2 separate regions of the Homo sapiens genome follow, and region 1 is linked to region 2. Evidence: promoter capture Hi-C in human tissues and cell types (Jung and others, 2019). All regions are on one chromosome and are shown on one strand. Each heading gives the region's core, a stretch centred on a gene start or on the middle of the fragment in contact. The rest is flanking DNA. Distances are from core to core; before and after follow the strand shown.

Region 1 (3,470 bases), core at 379-2,878, 310 kb after region 2:
AACTGATGTTCAAGTAATGCCCTTAAGGTTTTTTCAATTCATTTTTTTTTTTGAGACAGGGTCTTGCTCTGTCTCCCAGGCTGGAGCACAGTGGTGCGATCTTGGCTCACTATAGTCTGCCTGCTGGGTTCAAGCAATTCTCCCACCTCAGCCTCCTGAGTAGCTGGGATTACAGGTGCCTGCCACCACTCCTGGCTAATTTTTGCGTTTTTTGTAGAGACGAGGTTTCACCATGTTGGCCAGGCTGGTCTCAAACGCCTGACCTCAGGTGATCTGCCTGCCTCAGCCTCCCAAAGTGCTGGGATTACAGGCATGAGCCACTGTGCCCGGCCGGGTTTTTTTTTTTTTTTTTTTTTTTTTTTTTTTGAGACGGAGTTTCACTCTTGTTGTCCAGGCTGGAGTGCAATGGTGCAATCTCGGCTCACTGCAACCTCTGCCTCCCGGGTTCAAGAGATTCTCCTGCCTCAGCCTCCTGAGTAGCTGGGATTACAGGTATGAGCCATGAGCCACCATGCCCAGCTAAGTTTGTATTTTTAGTAGAGATGGGGTTTCTCCATGTTGGTCAGGCTGTTCTTAAACTCACGACCTCAGGTGATCTGCCTGCCTCAATCCCAGCACTAATCCCAAAGTGCTGGGATTATAGGTGTGAGCCATCATGCCCAGCCTTTTTTTTTTTTTTTTTTTTTTTTTAAATTGAGACAGGATCTCTGTCAACCAGTCTGAAGTGCAGTTGTGCATTCACAACTCACTGCAGCCTTGACTTCTGGGGCTCAGCTGATCCTCCCACCTCAGCCTCCCAAGTAGCTGGGAGTATAGGTGTGCACCACCATGCCTGGCTATTTTATTGTTGTTGTTGTTGTTGTTGTAGAGTTGAGGTCTTACTATGTTGCCCAGGCTGGTCAAATTTCTGCCCTCAAGTGATCTTCCTGCCTTGGCCTCCCAAAGTCTTGGGATTACAAGCATAAGCCCAGCCTTTTTTTTTTTCTAATAGTCTTTATTATTTTTTTATAGTCTTTATTGTTTTAGAACAGTTCTACATTTACAGAAAAATTTTGAAGATAGTGGAGTTCCCATATGTCCCACATCCAGTTTCCCTGATTATTCACATCTTACGTTAGTATGGGGCATTTGTTACAATGAATTTGTTACACTATTATTAAGGAGAGCCCATACTTTATTCAAGTTTCCTTAGTCTTCCCTTAATGTCTTTTTTCTAGGTAGCCCCTCCATGAAACCAGATTACATTTAGTCATCATGTCCCCTTGGCTCCTCCTGGCGGTGGCAGTTTCTCCGATTTTCCTTATTTTTGGTAAGCCTTAGTCCATATAAATATATTCTGGGGGAATTATAGATGGGTTTGACAGAAAGCAATTTTAAAAACAAAAACTACAAAAGAAGAAAGTCACAATCAATTGATTAGTTGAAAGTTACTCTATTCCAAACATCTTGGCAAACATTAAATAATCACATTTCAGAAACTACACCAAGCGAAAAAAAAAATGCCTTGAGTTATGGACATCAGGAAGCAGTAGCTTTGCACAAAAAGGATGGGTTTAAGGAGAACACTGTTTGAGGTGAGGTTTGGTAGATTTACAAACAAGGTTAGAGAAGGCTTCTATACACACATTATTAACCTGTGACATTAAATATATCTCTAAAACTTTATAACTTTTCCTTTTATTTAACAGAACTGTTGGAAGAAAACAAACAATATTTTGACTAGAAATGGAAATTCCTGATGCTTTGGGAATTGTTTCAGTACTTTTTCTAATACTTTAGGCATTGACTAGAAGAACTGAGACTAGAAAATACTCTTGCCTGTTTAGTCAGTATCACGTATCTTCATCTGTTTGTTGTCGCTGCTGAAGCACACACTTAAAATAATCATCATACATTTATGCACACAACCCCTTCTCCCGTGCCCTATACAAACCTATTAAGCTATTTTTCCGAATCAAATTTGCACAACTTTAAAGAAAAAAAAAAAACCTCACAGAATAATGTGTTTTTCAAGGCAGGCATTTTAAAAGCTAATCCCAACTTGCCCCGTTTTAGGCTTTTACAGTGTTTAACTTGCTTTCTTGGGTAGTTAGTCTGGAAATGAGTTCATCATCTGATATAGGATGGCTGGATTTTAATATTTTCTGTCTCCAATTCGTTTGGTTAAATGCCTAAAGCTGGTAGTCTACTAGTGCTGAAGGAAGAGGGGAAGCATTTATGGCTCATTAGAACCAATCCCCATGGTTTCCAGGTCAGCTGATTTTCTCACTACAATACTTAACAGCAAGATGAGAGGCTTTATTAACATCATGTCAATAAAGCCATTAATAATTCAGAAGAAATTTTAATTACAAACTTAAAAGAATTACATAGTTGTAAATTAGTCTGTCACTAAGTAAAGACTACTACATTTCACTTTGGGAGACCTTGTAAAATGTAAGCTAACTCATTGCTGGAACCTTGAAACAGAGGTCATCCGGATCAACAAGCATGAGTCCGTCCCTTCTGCCAGCTTCTGATCCCCTCATTTGAGTTTATGAGATGAGCCAATAATGAATGTAGAGGCAAGCAGCTCATTTTTCTACCTAAAACTAAGTCTCAGCCTGACACTTTTCTTCTGACCCAGTTACAGCTGCTTCTCTGGTGTGTGCTTCAATCCTCTTCACTGGGCACCATTAAACACTGGACTTGGTAGCTGTCTATGCATGTGACCAATTTCACTATCCATCTTCTGGCTTCAGTGCCAATTTTAAGAATGCTAATTCCTACGTGGCCAGATTTCTATAAAGATGGCAAATTATTTTATTCTGGCTAAAATTAATCATATTATTAATATTTTCTAAAGTTAGCGTTTACATTTACTGCTTTAAAAAAATTCCAGGCTGGGTGTGGTGGCTCACGCCTGTAATCCCAGCACTTTGGGAGGCCGAGGCAGGTGGATCATGAGGTCAGGAGATTGAGACCATGCTGGCTAACACGATGAAACCCCGTCTCTACTGAAAAAATACAAAAAATTAGCCGGGAGTGGTGGCGGGTGCCTGTAGTCCCAGCTACGTGGGACACTGAGGCAGGAGAATGGTGTGAACCCGGGAGGCGGAGCTTGCAGTGAGCAGAGATGCACCACTGCACTCCAGCCTGGGTGACAGAGCAAGACTCCATCTCAAAAAAAAAAAAAAAAAAAATCCAGCAAATATAAAATTTAGGCCTAAAAGATGCCAATGATTTAAAACTCTACACAGATCTAAGATCAATGCCTATGTATGAGTGTAGCTACTGCCACGAGGCATTCTACTCATAGCCAGCCTAGGAAAGTGTGAGCTGAATACAGGTCCTATGCCAAAAAACCTCTGCCTGAAACAGAACTACAGACGTGAGAAGCATTAATAGATGTGCACTGTATTTATATAAGCTTCTCTTTTCAGCATTAAAACAGCTGATCTACTGTGTCAATCTGGTAGAGATCAGTTGGT
Region 2 (3,393 bases), core at 157-2,656:
TGCACTCCAGCCTGGGTGACAGAGTGAGACTCTGTCTTAAAAAAAAAAAATTAAAATAAATAAATAAATAAATAAATAAAAATAAAAAATTATACATATTTGTAATGCTTTTTAAGAGATGGGGTCCCACTATGTTGCCCAGGCTGGACTTGAACTTTCGGGCTCAAGCAATCCTCCCACCTTAGCCTCCCGAGTAGCTGGGACTACAGGTGTGCACCACCATGCCAGGCCAATTTGTGTGTGTGTGTGCGTGTGTGTGTGTGTTTTGTTGAGACAGGGTTTCATGTTGCCCAGGCTGGTCTCCAACTCCTGAGCTCAAGAGCGATCAGTCCCCCTTGGCCTCCCAAAGTGCTAGGATTACAGGCTTGAGCCACTGCACCCAGCCATCTTTTTTTTAGACGTAGTTTCGCTCTTGTTTCCAAGGGTGGAGTGCAATGGTGGGGTCTCAGCTCACCACAACCTCTGCTTCCCGGGTTTAAGCGATTCTCCTGCCTCAGCCTCTCAAGTAGTTGGGATTACCGGCATGTGCCACCATGGCCGGCTAAATTTTGTATTTTTAGTAGAGATGGGGTTTCTCCATGTTGGTCAGGCTGGTCTCGAACTCCCAACCTCAGGTGATCCACCCTCCTAGGCCTCCCAAAGTGCTGCGATTACAGGCGTGAGCCACCGCGCGCAGCTGCTCTTTATGACTGCAAATATGGGGCACTTGCCTTGTGCCAGGCACTATGCTGGGCATTTTACCCTCATTCTTATAGGTAATCCTCATAGCAACTTGAGGAGTGGAGATAATTACAGTATTCCCACTGAACAAATGAGAAAACTGAAGCTCAGAAAGGCCAGTGACTGGACCAAGTTAATGATTGCACGGTTAGTTAGTGACAGAGCTGGGGTTTCACGACGTGTTTAAGCACCGCCCCATCAGTTGTGGCCACTAGGCTTAGGCGGATAGCCTCGCAGAGGAGCCTAGGTGGGGAGGGGGACGAAGAAGGAACATTTGGGACTGTGGGATGTTGAAATGGTCTCTTCGGAGGCTGCCGGGATTGAAACTGGGCAAGGTCCCAGGGCCCGAGTAGAGCCAGAGCGTGCTACGCGGCGATCCCTGAGCCACGGGGTTTTCAGCGCCCGGGAAGCCAGGCTTGCCAGGTTGGGGCGGCTGGCGGGGCAGGGCTTCTCGGTCCGTCCCAAGTCCAGGTAGGCGCTCGCGACCCGCGCGGGCAGGGAGAACGCGCTCCCACAGTGCTCGCGAGGTGCAGTGCGCCCCTGGGGGCTCCGGGGCCGTCGGGCCAGGTCGGCTTGGCGCCCAGGGACTGGCCGGACGGGCTGGGCCTTTGGCGGGGGTGGAAGAGGAGGTTGCCGCGCCCTGCCCGGCCCAGGTGTCGTCTCCGGGGGCGGGGTTTGGAGCCCCGCAGCGGGAGATTCCCGGCCGGACTGGCGGACGAGCGTCGAGAGACAGAAGCCGAGGAGAGGAGGCTAAGCCGGGCGGCGCGGGGAGCGCACTGAGCAGGCAAAGTCGCAGGGCCGCCAGCATGTTCTCCCGAAACCACCGGAGCCGGGTCACCGTGGCCAGGGGCTCCGCCCTGGAGATGGAGTTCAAACGCGGCCGCTTCCGACTCAGCCTCTTCAGCGACCTGCCCGAGGTGAGAGACTCGCGTCCCTGCCTTCCCCTTCCGCGGCTCCCGGGGGCAGCCCCAGCCACCTCGGCCTCCTTCCCTCGCCCGCGTGCACGCCGAGGGGCGGAGACGCACGGTCTGGGTACAAACCCGACGGAGTTGTTGACTTAAAAAGTAAGGTGTGGACGGTCTGCATTTTCATCGGATCCATGCTGCCCATTCCGCGGCCTGGTTAGGATTATCTGCCTGAGCCTGGAAAAAGCCCGGGTTGGTCTCAATTTGTAGGGCCCCAGCTCGACTCCTAAAATGTGCCTGAACCCCAAAATGTCTTGGGCATCCCCGGGCCAAGGGCGGTGGGCAGCTAGGCGGGCCCCAAGCGCTCGGACTCTTGGCCTGGGCTCCCGCTTGTTCCCCAGTCGCCAGCCCCATCCCACAACCTGTCGCAGCCATCTGGGCCAGCCTCTGTCATCAACCCCGACTTTAGGCCGGGGCCGCTCGCTTCCCCGAAGCCCAATTCAAAGGCTCCTCTATGCCCCTGCAGGGCTTTTAACTCCTTGGGGTTACTTCCCACACGCAAAATTTCCGCCTCCTTTTCTGGGGCCTAAGAGGAGTCCAGCCCCTAGGCTGAGCGTTTCCCCCGTCCGCCGTCCACGCGTTAACCTGTTGGATCCCCACCTGTAACGCCCTAAGGGCTAGGGCGGGGCTGAAGGTGTGTGGTTGAGCGGGGACTGAGAGGGCGAATAGCTACCCCGAAGACTCTTCTGTCCCCAAGGTCAGACTCACACTCGCCCAAGGAGAGCCCAGTTCCAAGCCTTCCCTTCCGGGTCTGGAAAGGGTTAAGTGAGGTGGGCCTTCCTTCCGCCCCCTCTACCTCCCGGCTGGGATTCCAGGCCTGGCTTCTGCCCTTTCCCTCCAGCCTGCCCAGAACAAAGAGGCTCTTTCACACCCTTGTCCCGGCGTCCCGGGCCTTCTCTGACTCAGAAGCTAGTGGACCTGGGGAGAGGGGGCCTTTGTCGCGTCCCCTTGCCCCCAAGCGACTGGGCCCGAGGAACCCGCGTGGGGCCAGCGTGGGGGAGTAAGGGGCGAGGCCCGGGACCAGGGGGAGGGGCCTGTGAGCTGGGGCCGCCCCTGGGATTAGCCCGGCCTTCGGGGACAGCTCGGAGGAGCTGGGGCGGAGCCGCAGGGCCTGGCGGCCGCCGAGTGAAGTGTGACTCCGTGGGCCTGGCGTGGAGGCGGGGGCGCTAGGCTGCAGCTGGCTCGGAATCGGGGCTGGTTTCCTGTCTGGAAGGGAAGGGGCCTGCAGAAGGGAGCGGGGACAGCAGCAGACAGGCACACCCCTGCCTTCCTCTCTCCCTCTCCTCCCTTCTCTGGAAAAGCGAGGTAATTGTGAGCCCAGGGTGGAGCGGGCTGGATGGGGGCCCTGAGTTGGAAGGGGTGGCCCTAGGGCTGGGCTGCTTTGCCAACTCACCCCTTTGTCCCATTCCCTGGGCTCACTCTCCCCTGAGGTCCTCACCTGTGTGGCTCTTTTTCCCAACTTTCTCAAACTAAGCTGGAACCCCTCTCGGGAAGCTCCAACCTCCTGCAAACCCCATGACTCTAGAACCTGCATGAGGCGTCGTTTCCCTGCCCCCTTCCAGTTGTGCCTGCCCCTCACTGCCCTCTCCGCACACAGATTCCCTGTCCACCAGGCCAGGGATGTGGGCGGGGGCTGGGGAGCGGCCAGAGTCGGAATGAAAGGGCCTTTTTCTTCCACAGCTGGGAGAACAGCTGCCACCAAAGCGAG

What was found. The method cuts DNA at HindIII sites, captures the fragments that hold promoters and counts their contacts. A contact is called where the count stands out against the background at its distance.
Region 1: a contact is called between a fragment that was not itself captured here and the fragment with the promoter of RTKN in region 2, in 1 of the 25 tissues and cell types used here (thymus).

What each region holds. Positions count from the first base shown.
Region 1 is chr2:74,126,213-74,129,682 of GRCh38, reverse strand. It overlaps a transcript of TET3 not described here. Among named protein-coding and RNA genes, the nearest start is that of BOLA3, 20 kb to the left of the region's middle. The HindIII fragment of the contact is 4,351 bases long and covers 1-3,470 here.
Region 2 is chr2:74,439,950-74,443,342 of GRCh38, reverse strand. RTKN (rhotekin) reads left to right here and starts at 1,406. Exons shown (of 12, transcript NM_001015055.2): 1 at 1,406-1,637. The coding sequence starts at 1,527. RefSeq lists silencers at 1,316-1,395, 1,706-1,765, 2,481-2,790 and an enhancer at 3,218-3,393. The HindIII fragment of the contact is 13,295 bases long and covers 1-3,393 here.